2 separate regions of the Homo sapiens genome follow, and region 1 is linked to region 2. The links are contacts of gene promoters, found by promoter capture Hi-C in human tissues and cell types (Jung and others, 2019). All regions are on one chromosome and are shown on one strand. Each heading gives the region's core, a stretch centred on a gene start or on the middle of the fragment in contact. The rest is flanking DNA. Distances are from core to core; before and after follow the strand shown.

What was found. Contacts are between HindIII fragments. The study calls those that stand out against the background at their distance.
Region 1: a contact is called between the fragment with the promoter of HFM1 here and the fragment with the promoter of BTBD8 in region 2, in 1 of the 25 tissues and cell types used here (thymus).

Annotation. Positions count from the first base shown.
Region 1 is chr1:91,399,295-91,406,543 of GRCh38, reverse strand. It overlaps HFM1 (helicase for meiosis 1), which reads left to right and starts at 1,707. Exons shown (of 39, transcript NM_001017975.6): 1 at 1,707-1,746; 2 at 5,435-5,532. The coding sequence starts at 5,462. RefSeq lists a silencer at 1,733-2,112. The HindIII fragment of the contact is 20,002 bases long and covers 1-7,249 here.
Region 2 is chr1:92,077,530-92,084,983 of GRCh38, reverse strand. It overlaps BTBD8 (BTB domain containing 8), which reads right to left and starts at 4,639. Exons shown (of 18, transcript NM_001376131.1): 1 at 4,264-4,639. The coding sequence starts at 4,412. RefSeq lists an enhancer at 2,699-3,366. The HindIII fragment of the contact is 3,183 bases long and covers 3,750-6,932 here.

The DNA.
Region 1 (7,249 bases), core at 458-2,957, 680 kb after region 2:
AACTTTATCACTGTCCTGAGGCTTCCTTTTAAAAACTGCAGCTTTGACATTTTTATTACATTATTTTAAGAGAAAGTAAGGCTCTATAGATTCCACATGCATTCTTGAATAAATGAGTGAGTGAATGAATGAATGTTTTTGTTTATGAACATGGTGGCCATTTGCTACTGTGTGCTTTGACAGTAAGACTCCCCTGTACCTGCCTGTTGCTGAATTCTACAATTCTATCACTCAAACCCTATCTTAGTTCAAGCTGCTATAACAAATTACCATAGGCTGGGTGGCTTAAACAACAAACATTTGTCACAATTTTGGTGCCTGAGAAGTCCAAGATCACAGTGCAGGCAGATCCGGTATTTGGCGAGGGCCTCCTTCCTGGCTTGCAGATACCGTCCTCCTGTATCCTCACATGGTAGGAAAAGAGCGAGCTAACTCTCTGGCCTCTTAAAAGGGCACAATCCTACTCATGAAGGCTCTACCCTTTTGAGTTAATTACCTCACAAAAGTCCCACGTTCAAATATCATCACATCGGGGGTTAGAATTCAATGTATGAATTTCAACACATTGAGGGGTTCACTATAACAAATGCACTGTTTCGTTATTTTCCTCTATGCAGTCTATGGAAAGTAACTTTCCTCTCCAGTATTTTTGAGAGGAATGATAATTCAACCTTTCTATTAAGAATAGTTTATGCAGTCAAAATGTTATTTTCTCCAAGAGACAAAGACTTGTTATTTTATCAGTATCCAAATAACTGGCTCACCCAATTACTGGAATAATTTTACATTTCAGAGAAGGTGAAAGAAATTAATATTCATGAGCATTTACTGTGTGGTAGGACTACTGCAAATATTATTTTATTTAACCCTTGCAGCAGTATCTAGGAGTTAGAGCTTATGAGTATCACTGAGGATGCAGAATTAAGACTTAAAGGTTGGGTCTTTTCCAAGGTCATATAGCTAATGAACAGTAGAACTGCAAGAAAAAAGAGAACAGGAATAGGGCAGTCAGACAGCAGTAGGTTGGCCCTAGATGTCACAGGTGGGGGTTTCCAAAGGAAAGATAAATGTCTCTGTAAGAAAAGCATCATTGATTCGTTGCTATTTTATCATCTACAAAACATTCCCTGCCAAATCTTCAGAGGACAATTCTAAAGAAACTTAAAAGGATAATTTATAGTTTGTTCATGTTTACAGCCTAAGAACACATTATTGCCCTGTTTTTATAAATTCATGTTGGCTAAACACATTTAAATATCATTGTGTTTTAGAATATTTATTTCTGAAATTTAACTTTATTTCTGAATCAAGTTCCCCAGTAATACCGACCTCATGAGTGCCACTGTGATATTTTATAAATAATATAGGTAAAACACTTTTTAGGTACGAAGAGACCGGAAGTCCCAGAGCTGAGGCCTGGCTAACTTTGATGAGAAAGGCAGGTTGGGGTATGTTTGTGGAGTGGTGGTTGTGGGGGTAGAGAAGCAGGTTAGCTTAGGGAAAGGGTACCATTTAGTAGACCCTTAGAACCCAGGATTAGGAGCTGTATTTAAAGAGAATAGACACAGTAAACTGCAAGAGATATATTCAAAACCAGTTATAAACTTTCGGAGAAAAAAAGGTAGGAAGGGAGAGGTTGGGGGCTTGGGCGATCCATTGCTTGGAGCTCGGCTTAGCCAGGCTTGGCGGTCCTCAGAGGGGCTGATAAATCGGCGCTCGACTGGCCTAGGAGCTGTCCGCAGGGAGGTGAGGAGAGGGGCCCGGACGCCCGCGGGGAAGGTGGGGACGGGGGCCCGACGCCCGCGGGGAAGTGGGGACCCAGCCGAGCCGTCCGGGCAGCGGTCGATCTCTAGAGCCGTCTGCCGGGCAGGCAGCGGACGGGCGCGGCGAGTTGTTGGTCACCAGGCGTCTCCAGGCCGCCGGCCCGCGCCAGCGCCTCAGCCGCATTTCCAGTCAGAAAGCGGTGAGGCCTGCGGCGCGCTCGGGCGCAGGGCGGGCCCAGCTCCCCGCGAGGTGGGACCGGCTGGGCGTCCGGCCCGCCCCTAAAGTCGGCTGATTGGTGTTCGGTTCCTGTGTCTTGTGTTCCGGTGTGTGGCGCCCCCTGAGCGAGCGCTGGGGGGGACGTACCCATCTGTCTGAGCCGCGGGTTTCACAGCGGTGGGAGGAAACGGGACCCGGGGGGTGGAGTGACGCGCCCCAGCGCCCCGTTCTTGTGCCACTCTCGGGGCCCTAAGGCCTCTGCCTTGGATTTAGGATATTCTCCTTAGGAAATCCACAGAGCTGTTATTTTGCTTTAGGTGCTGATTCGGTCCCCAGCCGGACCCTTCCAGCCAGCCCTGTTGGTGCCTGGGGAGAGGGGGTGAGATCTGGGGCTCCGACAATTGTATGGTCCTTTCCCAGGCCGAGCCTCGGAGTAATTTGTTCCCGTTGATTTTTCCTTCTTTGTCAGATTCTCTGCAGTTATTTGTGACGGTCGGTTATTCCCGTAAATGTTGGTCCCTACTTCTTCCTTAACTCACAAAAATTTCTAGCAAATCAATAATTTTTATCTGAGTTTCTGTACTTTTAAAATAAGGAGTATGTTTCTGAGTAAAAATTGTAAGAAGTAATAGGCCTGCAATTTTATACAATAAGTTTATACAATAATTGTATACAATAATTTTATACAATAAGTAAAGATTACAGAAGACAAAATGGTGAATTGTCATTAATATAACTAAAGATTAATTGTATCTAGTTGTATTAATATTTAACTAGAGATTGTCATTAATATAACTAGAGAAGGTCGGCACCGCAAATTATGTAGACTCAAAAATAGCTTAAGTATTTTAACAGTGATTATAGCAGAGCAGACACTTAAAACTACCTGGGATGATATTGTTTATTGTGTTTGGCAATCTAATTTTGTGCCACGTGCTGAAACTAAAACTTTAATAATAAATAATAGGAACTTAAAAAATCTGAATCTAAACCTAGAACTTTAATTAATTTAAAATAGCATCCCCTCACATCACAAACTCATACTGAACTGTAGCAAGGTCCCTTTTAGGACCTGTGTTTCTTTTTTAAAAAAAGATTTACATAATGAAAGTGCCAAATTCATCATCTTTTAGAACCTTCATGATTTTATTTACATAAATCCTGAACTAGAAAAAAATTTCACATTTTTTAACTGAACGTTGAAGATTGGGGCTCAAATTTTAAGTTTCTAAATTAACAGAAAATTATTTTTATTTGACACTATTTTTATAAACTGGTTCTTGCTAATGCATTTATTCCACAATGCATTCTTATGGACCATTTACTGTGTGCCAGGCACTATTCTGGGTTATTGGAACACATTAATGAGCAAAAAGTCCCTGCTTGCTCTAAAGGGAGAAACATAATAAACAACTAAGCATATACTATAATGTTAGTTATCAGTTCATGCTATGAAGAAAAATAATGCGGAATGAGAGGATGCAGTTTTAGATAAGGGGTGTTTTTTCACAGGAGTATATAAGAACTAAAATATGTACATGATATTTTTATTCTGAACCCAAACAAGTTATATTCTTGTATGCTAGAACTAGAAATCAAAAATTCTTTTGAAAATATTTGCTGTTTGTATAGGAGGTTTTTGTCAGTTTATGCAACGCTTTTCTTCCCAAATGTTTTAAATTTGTAGTTTTGTTGTCTATTTGTAGTTGCTTTAGGAAGAAAGTATTCAAGTGTATAAATGTTAGCCTTAAGATTTTTGACTTAAATTCTGAGGTAGCAAAGCCATATGAAACTGGTCTGGTGAGGTTTATTTTAGGAAAAGTTTCTTTTGTTTGAACATAGTTTTCCTAAAACTAGAAAGGGAACATTTTATTTGTTACTTTTTGGGCAATATAAAAACATGATTAACATTTTCATTTATACTTTTTCAGATAATTGTTTTCAAGTTCTGAAATTGTTTACTTAAAGCTGTTAAAGACTTCGCATATTTCTGAATGACTCCCTCTACCTCCTGCCCTATTATCCTAGGCTTCTATTTTTCGTATAGTCAAATTGTTTTAGACATTTATAGAACCACACTAGTTTGTTTCATTTTTACTACTTGTTTTTGTTGGTAACTGATTAATAGATAGAGAAAAATGAAGAGGGCAATTATATTAAACAGATGGAAGGGGGAAGAACCCAATAACGAAAACAGTGAAAAACCCCACAATATTCTATATCAGTAAGAACAGCCCTGAAGTATATATACAGGTTTAGTTCTCATACAGTAGCATTTGTCAAGTGTTGTATGTGGAAACATTCTCCCTTCCCCATATCACTCCCACTTGTATCTCATCCCCACATCAAGGAGGATTCAAAATTGGAGAGACATAATCTGACTTGGTAATGCGTATTTCTCCACTAGATGGCATTAATAGAATTTCTTTGATTGTAGTTTCTATCTTGAGGACAAATTTACAATGTATTAACTAAAACAGAAGAAACAGAAATGTGATTTATGTTTTACAGTTTGTTCGTCTGATTTTATGGTTTGTCATATAGAATGTTCTATGATGTTTAAGAATTTAGAAAAAAATAGGATATGCAGGGAAAAATAATTCTAATGGGAGCAATGTATGTATCTAGAGACTAGTTTTTTTTTTTAATCACATTTGCATCTTTGTTCAGCCCCAGATTTTTGTTATGTTCAAAGGTGGCCAATGCTGAATGTTTTTATCCTTTATGTTTAGATAATATCTCTGAGTGCAAAAATTATCTTTTAAAAAAGAATGTAAACGTGTGTAGTATATGCATTAACTCATATAAATAAATATGCATATGTATGTTAAACTTGTAATTTTTTTATTTTGAAAAAGTTCAAACCTATGAAAAAATATTATAATGAACCCCATGTACCTATTACATAGCTTTAGCTTTGATCAACTCATTGTCAATATTATTTCAATACTCCTTCATCTCTCCCCTTTATTTTGAAGCAAATCCCTGCATATGTACATAGTATATTGTTAGAGGTGCACACATTCACAATAAAATGTGCTGTCCTAACTTGAAAATAATGGTGTGAACAAAGTATTAAGAGCCCAAGAAGACTGATTAATTCTGCCTTGAGGAAGAAGACAAATTCAGAAAAGCCTTTGAAGAAGAAATGACATTTGACCTATAACTTGAAGGATGGTTAGGAATTTGCCAGTTGGAGAATGGCAGAAAACACATTCCAAGCATTGGAGCACTATGAAGAGAAGGGAGCAAGTGTGAATCCATGAATGAATGGAAAACAGAGAATAATGTATGTGAATATTGAGGTGCTTTGAAGGAAGTTGCAGACGATGAAGCTGGAAGGATAGTCTGTGGTTATATTTTACAGGAGACTGTGGAAAATTAGTGATTATACAGAAATATTTTTTTACATCTTTATAAATAAAATATAAACTACTTTTTCCATATTTTGTAGATTTATGACAAAGTCCAGTTTTCAACAATGCTGAAATCAAATGATTGCCTGTTTTCTTTGGAAAATTTGTTTTTTGAAAAACCAGATGAAGTTGAAAAGTAAGTCTCCCTTAAAGATTGATAGCATAGTATATTACTTTAGGGTTTTTTGAATTTGGGTGAGTTTTAGCTTTCTCTCTGGTAAATATACAAATAAAAATGAGGAATCAACAGAACGATATTTCAGTTACATATTTGGTAAACATGGAATTCTCTTACCAGTAGTATAGGGGAGTAACTGAAGTTTAACATCTTAAATGTTATAATTTTAAAAATAGAATAGATTTGGGCCAGGCGCAGTGGCTCACGCCTGTAATCCCAGCACTTTGGAAGGCTGAGGCGGGTGAATCACCTGAAATCAGGAGTTCAAGACCAGCCTAGCCAACATGGTGAAACCCTGTCTCTACTAAAAGCACAAAAAAATTAGCCAGGCCTGGTGGCGCATGCCTCTAATCCCAGCTACTTGGGAGGCTGAGGCATGAGAATTGCTTGAAGCCCGGAGGCGGAGGTTGCAGTGAGCTAAGGTGGCGCCACTGCACTCCAGCCAGAGCAACAGAGTGAAACTCTATCAAAAGAAAAAAAAAAAAAAAAGATTCTTGCCTATTTGGCTTGCATTTATTTGTATTTCTGGTTTGTTCAGATTATTTTTGGCCAAGCTAAAGATGGGAAATAATGCTCAAAGAGTAGCTCAGGACAAGGAATGACGTCACCATCTGGAAACAGAATGGACAGTATGCCAAAGGCAAAGTATGATAGGCACATTAAATGCTGGCAGGAAGTAGGGGCGGGAATAAAGATGTGAGACCAAAGAAAACAAGACTAGAGAGTAGGTAGTATGTTAAATACTGGCTTTTATGGATTTTCATGTGCATTGTTCAATTTTGAATTTTCTGTGTATTTTTAGTGTATTGTATTATCCTATTTTAATGAGGTGTATTAATTGCCTCATTATTTTACTTGTTCATTCAAATATTGATTGAAAGTTGAAAGGGTTATAAAAAGGATGAAACAGACTTTTACTTACAAAGTACTTAAAATCTAGTTGAAGAGATTAAACACACAAATGGAAAGACATTAATAAGTAATAGGACCATGTAAATAATCATCTATACTGTGACACTTTTGAGAGTGAAAGAGCACATCCAACTGGGGCAACATGTGTTAATCAGGTCTGGCCAATGCAAATTTTGTAATATACGGTTGTTTTTCTGAAAATATGGTCAAAAATATGTGCAAAGCAAATGACAAGCATATGTTCATGCAATGAAATTTCAGACTTGGAAGGAAGGTCGTCTTGGAGTACACAGTCAGGTCAGGCTTTTTGGGTAGTAGGGGGAGACTTCAGGAGGCTTTGAAGGATTTGATAATTCCTATAGAAAGAGAAGAAGTGGGCATTTGAAGGCAGAGTGTTAGAGCAAGAGAAAAAGAATGGAGATAGGACATTCATGGTACTTTTAAGGGATAACATGTAGAGAAGTTTCCTGGAATAGACAATTCATGAAGGAGGAACTTTGGGACATAAAGTTAGAAATTCTAAGTTGAGGTTAGATGGTGATGTGCGTTGAATGCTGGAATAAGGATTTTGGATATAATTCACTGTGGGTTAAAAGCCATTGAATTAAATCAACAATTATTTATTGAAATTATGTAAAGGACTTTGCTAAGTACTGCTGATGTAAATGGACGTAAAAATAAAACTGTAGGTATAATCTAGAGGGAGTATCAAATATCTATCTGTCAAAGCTATCCATTTGCTTATCTGTTTCTCTCTATTATC
Region 2 (7,454 bases), core at 3,390-5,889:
TGGTTAGGGAACTAAGGCAAGGTAAGTAAGTGCCTGGCTCCATGTTCCTTACAAAGATATGTGTGAGTGTGGAACTATATGTTGGTCAGCACAGAGTACTGAGAGGGTGCGAAGTGGCAGATGAAGCTGCAGAGATAAAGATGAATAAGAGGCAAAGAGCTTAACTGTACCCTACAGTGAAAGAGGAGTCATAAAATTGTGTGTGCTGAACCTCTATTAACCTCAGTAGGGAAGGCACCAGGCTCCAGAGGCTGAAGAGACCCAGAGCCAGCAAACAAGATATGGGCTTTTATTAGGGGCTTACATACAGGGGAGAGAGTCCAGTGGTGGCAGGCTGGACAAGATATCCACCTTACCTACAGTCCAGTGGTGGTGGACTGAGCAGGAAAACTGCAAACCCTTGCAAACAGCATGGAAGTTTATACAGCATTTTCACTTAACCCCCTTCCTTTAATGTCCTCCACCTGGCAACCTTCATACAACCCTAACCCAGGGCTTCAATCCCCTTTACAGCCTGTGTTCCACAGTATGGGCCCAGGAGCTCAGATGTTCCTCACAGACAAGGAACGAATCTCTGGGATGGCGACTCCCAGATTCCCTAGCTCGCAACACACGCAGGTACATCCACCATACAGGGTCATTTTAAGTGTATGCCTACATTATTGCTATCAGGTGTGTTTGCCCTGCAAATGGTTTGAAACAATGGCAAATTTATTTTTCAAAATATATAAATTTGTGTAGAAGAGGAGTTAGATGAAAATGAGAATGAAGATGAGAAAACTACCGCACAGATGAATGAAGCCAGGAGAGGATCAATGGTGATAAAGATGGGATAAAATTAAAATATATTTACGTAATAAAATTGGCACGAGTTGGTAAAATTGGCAGGGAAGGAATAACTTGGCTCTTTCTCATATTTGGATAACTAGGTGCTAGTGATACTACCAATCTGCTAGTCAAACTCCCCTCCTCTACTCCAGACATATTTCCAGTTGTTTCCTGGATATAGCTTGCTGGACATTCATTATACACCTCCCTTTCAGGCAAGATCAGGCTTGTTCAGGGTGGTATGGTAGTAGCCTACATGTTTCCCTTTCAAATGTCCTAAGATTTGGGGCCATTTTCAATGCTTCCTTTTCCCTGTTCCCCAGCATGTCATCAGTCACCAAGCCTATCAATTGTTCCATTTCCACTGCCATTATGTATCCCTGGACTATAAAATCTCCCAGCTGGTCTCCTTGTTTCCAATTTTCCTTTCCTTAAATTCCAGATTCAAAATGTGTTAATTCCCTATTTTAAAAACACCGATGGTTCTCCACTCCTTCTAGATACATCACAAACATTTCACTGGAGAAAGAAAGCCCCTGTGATCCAGTCTTAGTCTACCCATTCACCCTTACCTACTGTCACTTTGATTGCCTGCCATGCAATCTCCTTCCGAATAAAGCTACCAAATTTATTTATTACTTATATGTGGCCCTGGTTTGTACCACATGCCCCTACATCCTAATCACATCTGAATGGACAATGGGCTAAACCAAGGTTAGCCACTGGCCAATGCAGTAATCAAGCAGGAGAACTTGAGCAAAGATGTTCTATAATAAACATGAACCAACTGATGGCACTGAAGAGCATTCTTAAGCAAATCTATGGTAGAAAAAGAAATGGGTAAGGAGAGAAGAGGAGATGAAGGTACAAAGTTAACTGGAAGATCAGTTTACTGTAGAGGAGGCAGACTGCTTGGGTTCATATTCTGGTTATGTGACCCTGGGCAAGTCATTTGAAAGTCTCTGGAGCCAGATTGCCAAGGTTCTTATTCTGACTCCACCACTTTTTTTTTTTTTTTTTGAGACAGAGTCTTGTTCTGACGCCCAGACTGGAGGGCAGTGGCTTGATCTCAGCTCACTGCAATCTCCACCTCCCCGGTTCAAACAATTCTCCTGCCTCAGCCTCCCAAGTAGCTGGGACTATAGGTGCCACCATCATTTCTTTTTTAACATTCAGTTTCCTCTTGTGTTAAATGAGAATAACAAGACTTACCTCACAGGATTCATGAGAGAAGTAAGTAAAACATTTCATGTAAGCCCAGTGTATAGCAAATAGTAGGATGGCAATAAGTATTAGTGTTTTTTTTTTACCACTGCCCTGAATAACAGTCCATTTGTCAATGTGGTCTTATTGTATGACTGTTACCATATCCCAAACAACTTTCCAGTTCTACATTGGAGCTGGCTTTTTGACAGCTAAAACTGTCTCCCACTTTTCCTCACTTCTCTACATATCTTGTCACGTCAGGTAACCTAGGAGTGTCTCTGTTCCTTACTATTTGGCAGAGTCTAATACGACTTGCTTTCTCAAAATCAATCAAGCTCTTTCAAATTTCTGTGCTTCCATAAAAGTTATTCCCCTTGTTTAGATATCCTCTACCTCTCCCTTCCCAATCTTTACCTAATCAATTCTTAACCAATCCCTAAGAGCTCACTCAAATGTCACCCTATAAAGTCTTCCCAACTCACCCCACCACAACTATCACTTTTATTTAGCCATTTCCTCTCTCACTAGAGTGTAAGGACAAACAACAAAGCAATGTTTTATTAACGTTTATTACTTAAGACCTAGTACCGGGCTAGGTACGTGGTCAGTGCTAGATACTTCATTAGTATTTGTAGAATAAATAAATGACATTGCTATGCTTGGAGAAAATTAATTTAGTATAGCATTTAAGGTGGTTGGGTGAGCATTTTGTTTTGTTTTGTTTTAAAAAAAAACCTTGCTACATCTATTTTTCTTTGTTTATAATAAGAATTTGAGAGTTCTGAGTCCTACCCTCAGTTGTAACTAAGATAAGGATAAATTGTTCACTAGCAATACTTTAACCTCATTTTCTTCATATAAATTAGATGTGTTACCCTAGAAACGTTAACAACTTTAGTATTATTTTTTCCATCTTTTTCATCAGTCCCTCCCTGGTAGAGACAAAGTAGCTTCCCCAGTAGATAGTCCCAAATTAAAGGGATTTTTTTTTTACTTTGATAAATTCTGTTTATAGCTATCGGAGCCTTAAGTATGGGTGAGTTTTTGACAGAAAGCACTTCAAAATGTAGAATCCTGGCTGGGCGCAGTGGCTCACGCCTGTAATCCCAGCATTTTGGGAGGCCGAGGCGGGCGGATCACTTGTGGTCACGAGTTCGTGACTAGCCTGGCCAACATGATGAAATCCCGTCTCTACTAAAAATACAAAAATTAGCCGGGCGTGGTGGCGCGTGCCTGTAATCCCAGCTACTCGGGAGGTTGAGGCAGGAGAATGGCTTGAACCCGGGAGGTGGAGGTTGCAGTGAGCCGAGATCGCGCCACGGCGCTCCAGCCTGGGCGACAGAGCGAGACTCCGTCTCCAAAAAAAAAAAAGTAGAATGCTGCACAACTTTTAATTATTAGTAATTATGTTTACCTCAGTGGTTCTCATAGTCACCCTAGCCAGCAGCATTAGCATCACTTGGGGCCTTGTTAGAAATGGAAAATTTCAGTGATGCCCACCCAAGTTTAAGAATCAATGTCTTGCTGGAAATGTAAATTAGCTAGGTCATATTTCTAAGCTTCAATTTCTTTGTAAGCTGAAATTACTTTAGCTGGATTCCCAATAACCCGAGAAGGATATCCATGAGGCTTACAAAGGTTAAATGTCAGGAAGACCCTCCATTTGCTTTGGTCCTCACAGGAGCTGAGAGTTGCTGGGAGCTACAGAGAGCTCTAGGTGGAGAGAGGAATCCAGGTCGCAATCAGGAAGCATTTCTGGTAAATTGTTTAAAGAGACCTCAGAAGAGACCTCCAAGACTATAGTATTGTTCTTTCCTCATTTCAAATAATCGTTTTCCTAATTTTATTATTTTTCTTAAAATAGTATAAGCTTATTTTAAAAATTGTGTAAGTTTCAGGACCTGGATCCACCCGACCTTAGTGATTGGAAACAACTAAGCGTGCCTGTGTTGAGATATTTCTAGCAAACTAGTGCTGCACACGACTAAGCTTTTTTTGTTTTCCTTTTGAATCTGGTACATGGTGTCGAGGTGCTCGGGATTGTTTATTCAGGGCGAGCGAAGCCACTTTTCGGAATAGTGGGGAGACTGGCTAACGACCCGCAGTCGCCTGAGGCGAGGAGAACCAAGTGCTGAGGGAGGGGGAGGCAGAGCCGAAAGAAGCCTCAGCTTCGGGGCGGAGGTGGGCGATTTAGGAACTGAAGCAGCCAGAGTTCCCGCCTCCTCCTACCTGAGCAAATCCTGGCTGAGCTGCTCCGACACCGTCGCCTTCAGCCGGCGCCGCTCACACGGCCCCTTCCTTTGCAACCCCTTACTGCAAACTCCAGCGGACCCCAGAAGTACCATGGGGGCCGCACTGCCTTCCCCACAGCGAGCCATGTCTCACAGAGGTACGACGCCCTGGAGGCCCAGTACTTGGCCTCACTTGCCCCGCCCAGGAGGAAGAAGGGGGCGTTTCCGACCGAACGCTCGGCTCCTACCCAAATCCGCCCCCTAGGGTAAAAGGTTGACGCCTCTCGTCGGTTTGTAGACAGTCTCCCAGAGAAGCCGGACCGCGGTGGGGAGCCTCAGAATCCCAGAACCGAGCCGGCTCTTGACCCAGGAAGAGCGTGCGCAGGCGTACTCGCTCTGTTTACTTCTGCCGGCGGGCACCCCGCCTCCCATGGCTCAGGCGCGGACCATCCCGCGGGGCAAACCAATCCTCAGGCTCCTTATCCCCTCCCCTCTTCTTTCCCTTCCGGTTGGTGTTCATTCATTTCAATGTTTTACTGAGGCTCGAGTTCAAATCAGCACATGCAGCCTTTCTATGCTGTGTCTTCCTGACAGGTCTACACTTTTTTCCAACGAAAGACTGGGCGAGTCACACCCCCTCACTTACCTGGCTTCTTAACCCTGAGGTATAAATGTTTGGGGCAAGAAAAATTGGCGATGGGAGGAGTAGGGGAAGAACTTCATAAACTGCCAGTCAGAACAATTCTGAGTTCAATATAAGAGATACTTACAGCATCTAGAAGGCCCCATCCCCTTCTTATCCAAGGAGTGGCTCATACAAGCTTTTGGACTTGATCGGAGAAAGCACAGGGCTTTGCATATAAAGCCCTAACATTTATGACCAAGAAGGGAGAAATAGGTAAGGGGCAAAGTCTTTGAGCAGTGAAGTGATGGATGGATGAAATATAGAATTCTCTTTTGTCCCAAATAAAGTAGCAAACTGATTATCATTTAAGGTTTTGGTATTTTTTATTTGATTACTGCCTCCAAAATAAGGAAACTCAGTAGTTCCGCTTCGGGCCGGGCAAGTCCCATCTACTTGGGAAGCGAGGCGGAATGATGGCTTGAGCCCGGGAGGTCGAGGCTGCAGTGAGCCATGATTGCACCACTGCACTCCAGCCTGAACAGCACAGCAAGACCCTGTCTCAAAAAAAAAAAAAAAAAAAAAAATCTGTTTCATTCACAAACTCTACACACAAGGTGAAGAATAGTAATTGCTTGGAAAATACATTGGCCAGGTTGCGGTGGCTCACACCTGTAATCCCAGCACTTTGGGAAGCCAAGGCGGGAGGATCACTTGAGCCCAGGAATTAGAGACCAGCCTGGGCAACATAAGGAGACCCTGTCTCTACCAAACAAAAAAAAAAAAAAAGGAGGCGGGGAGGGGAATATATGGACTTTGTATTTGTACCATAAGATTGGCCAAGAGGTAACCATTTCTTCAGATAATGCCCCCTCTCAAATATTCAGACATCTTAATTCTGAAAAATATAACTGGATAATTGATTTTTTAAAATTAATTCCCAAATGCTTGGATGGATAATTGATTCTTAATTATTCCTGTAGAAACGAGGGGTGTCAAAGATAACATAATAGTAGCTTATATTTGAATCCTTATTATGTGATAAACGCTACTCTATTTGCTCTGTGTGTTTTAACTCAGTTAATCCTTACAACAACCATTTAGCTAGGTACTGTCTTCAGACCTATTTACAGATGAGGAAGCTGAGGCATACAAAGGATAGGTAAACTTGGCCAAGGTCACACAATGTCATATATCACACTATAATATATGGTGTGTTACACCATAATAATGGTGTATTATAACCCAGGCAGTATTTATATTTTGACTGGCAAATTTAGTCAATTTACATATACTTTTCGTAGGAATGTAAATTGGTGCAGCCATTATGGAAAACAGTATGGAGGTTCCTCAAAAAATTAAAAATAGGACTATGACATGACCCAGCAAACCCTCTTCAGGTATATACCCAAAGGAAATGAAATTAGCACCTCATAGAGATATCTGCACTTTCATGTTTGTTGCCCCATTATTCACAATAGCTAAGATATGGAAACAACCTAACTGTCCCTAGGATAGATTAACGGATAATGTTGTATATATACAATGGAATATTATTCATTCTTAAAAGAGAAGATCCTGCCATTTGTGACAACATGGATGAAGCTGGAGGACGTTAAGTAAAATTAGCCAGGCACAGAAAGACAAATACTGCCTGACGCCTGTAATTGCAGCACTTTAGGAGGCCGAGGTGGGCGGATCATGAGGTCAGGAGATCGAGACCATCCTGACTAACACGGTGAAACCCTGTCTCTCCTAAAAATACAAAAAAAATTAGCCAGGCATGGTGGTGGGCACCTGTAGTCCCAGCTACTCAGGAAGCTGAGGCAGGAGAATGGTGTGAACCTGGGAGGCGGAGCTTGCAGTGAGCGGAGATTGCCACTGCACTCCAGCCTGGGCGACAGAGCCAGACTCTGTCTCAAAAAAAAAAAAAAAGAAAAAAGACAAATACTGCATACTCTCATATGTAGGATCTTTTAAAAAGTACATAAACAGAAAGGTGGTTGGGGGAGATGTAGGTCAAAGGGTACAAAGTTGCATTTATGTAGGATGAGTAAGTATAGAGATCTAATGTACAGCATGAGAACTATAGGTAATAATATTTGTTGTATACTAGAAATTTGCTAAGCGAGTAGATTTTAGGTGATCATACCACAAAAAAAGTAACTATGTGTGGTGAGAGGGAAAACAGTAACTGTGTGATGATGATATGTGCTTGACTATATCATTTTACTATGTATGTCAAAACATCATGTTGTATACCTTAAATATCCACATGTTAAAAAAAAAAAAATCAAAAAACCACCCAGGTAGTCTAGCACCAGACTCCCTTCAAAGCCCTGCCAGATTTCTACCAGGCCTCTTTATCACCTGATAAAGTAACAACTAGGCTACTCTCTGGTTGGAAATGGGTGACAGAATGATTCCTGGTTCATGTTTTATCTTAAAACAACTTAAGTTAGGCCGGGTTTGGTGGCTCATGCCTGTAATCCCAGCACATTTGAAGGCCGAGTCGGGCAGATCACCTGAGGTCAGGAGTTCGAGACCAGCCTGGCCAACATGGCGAA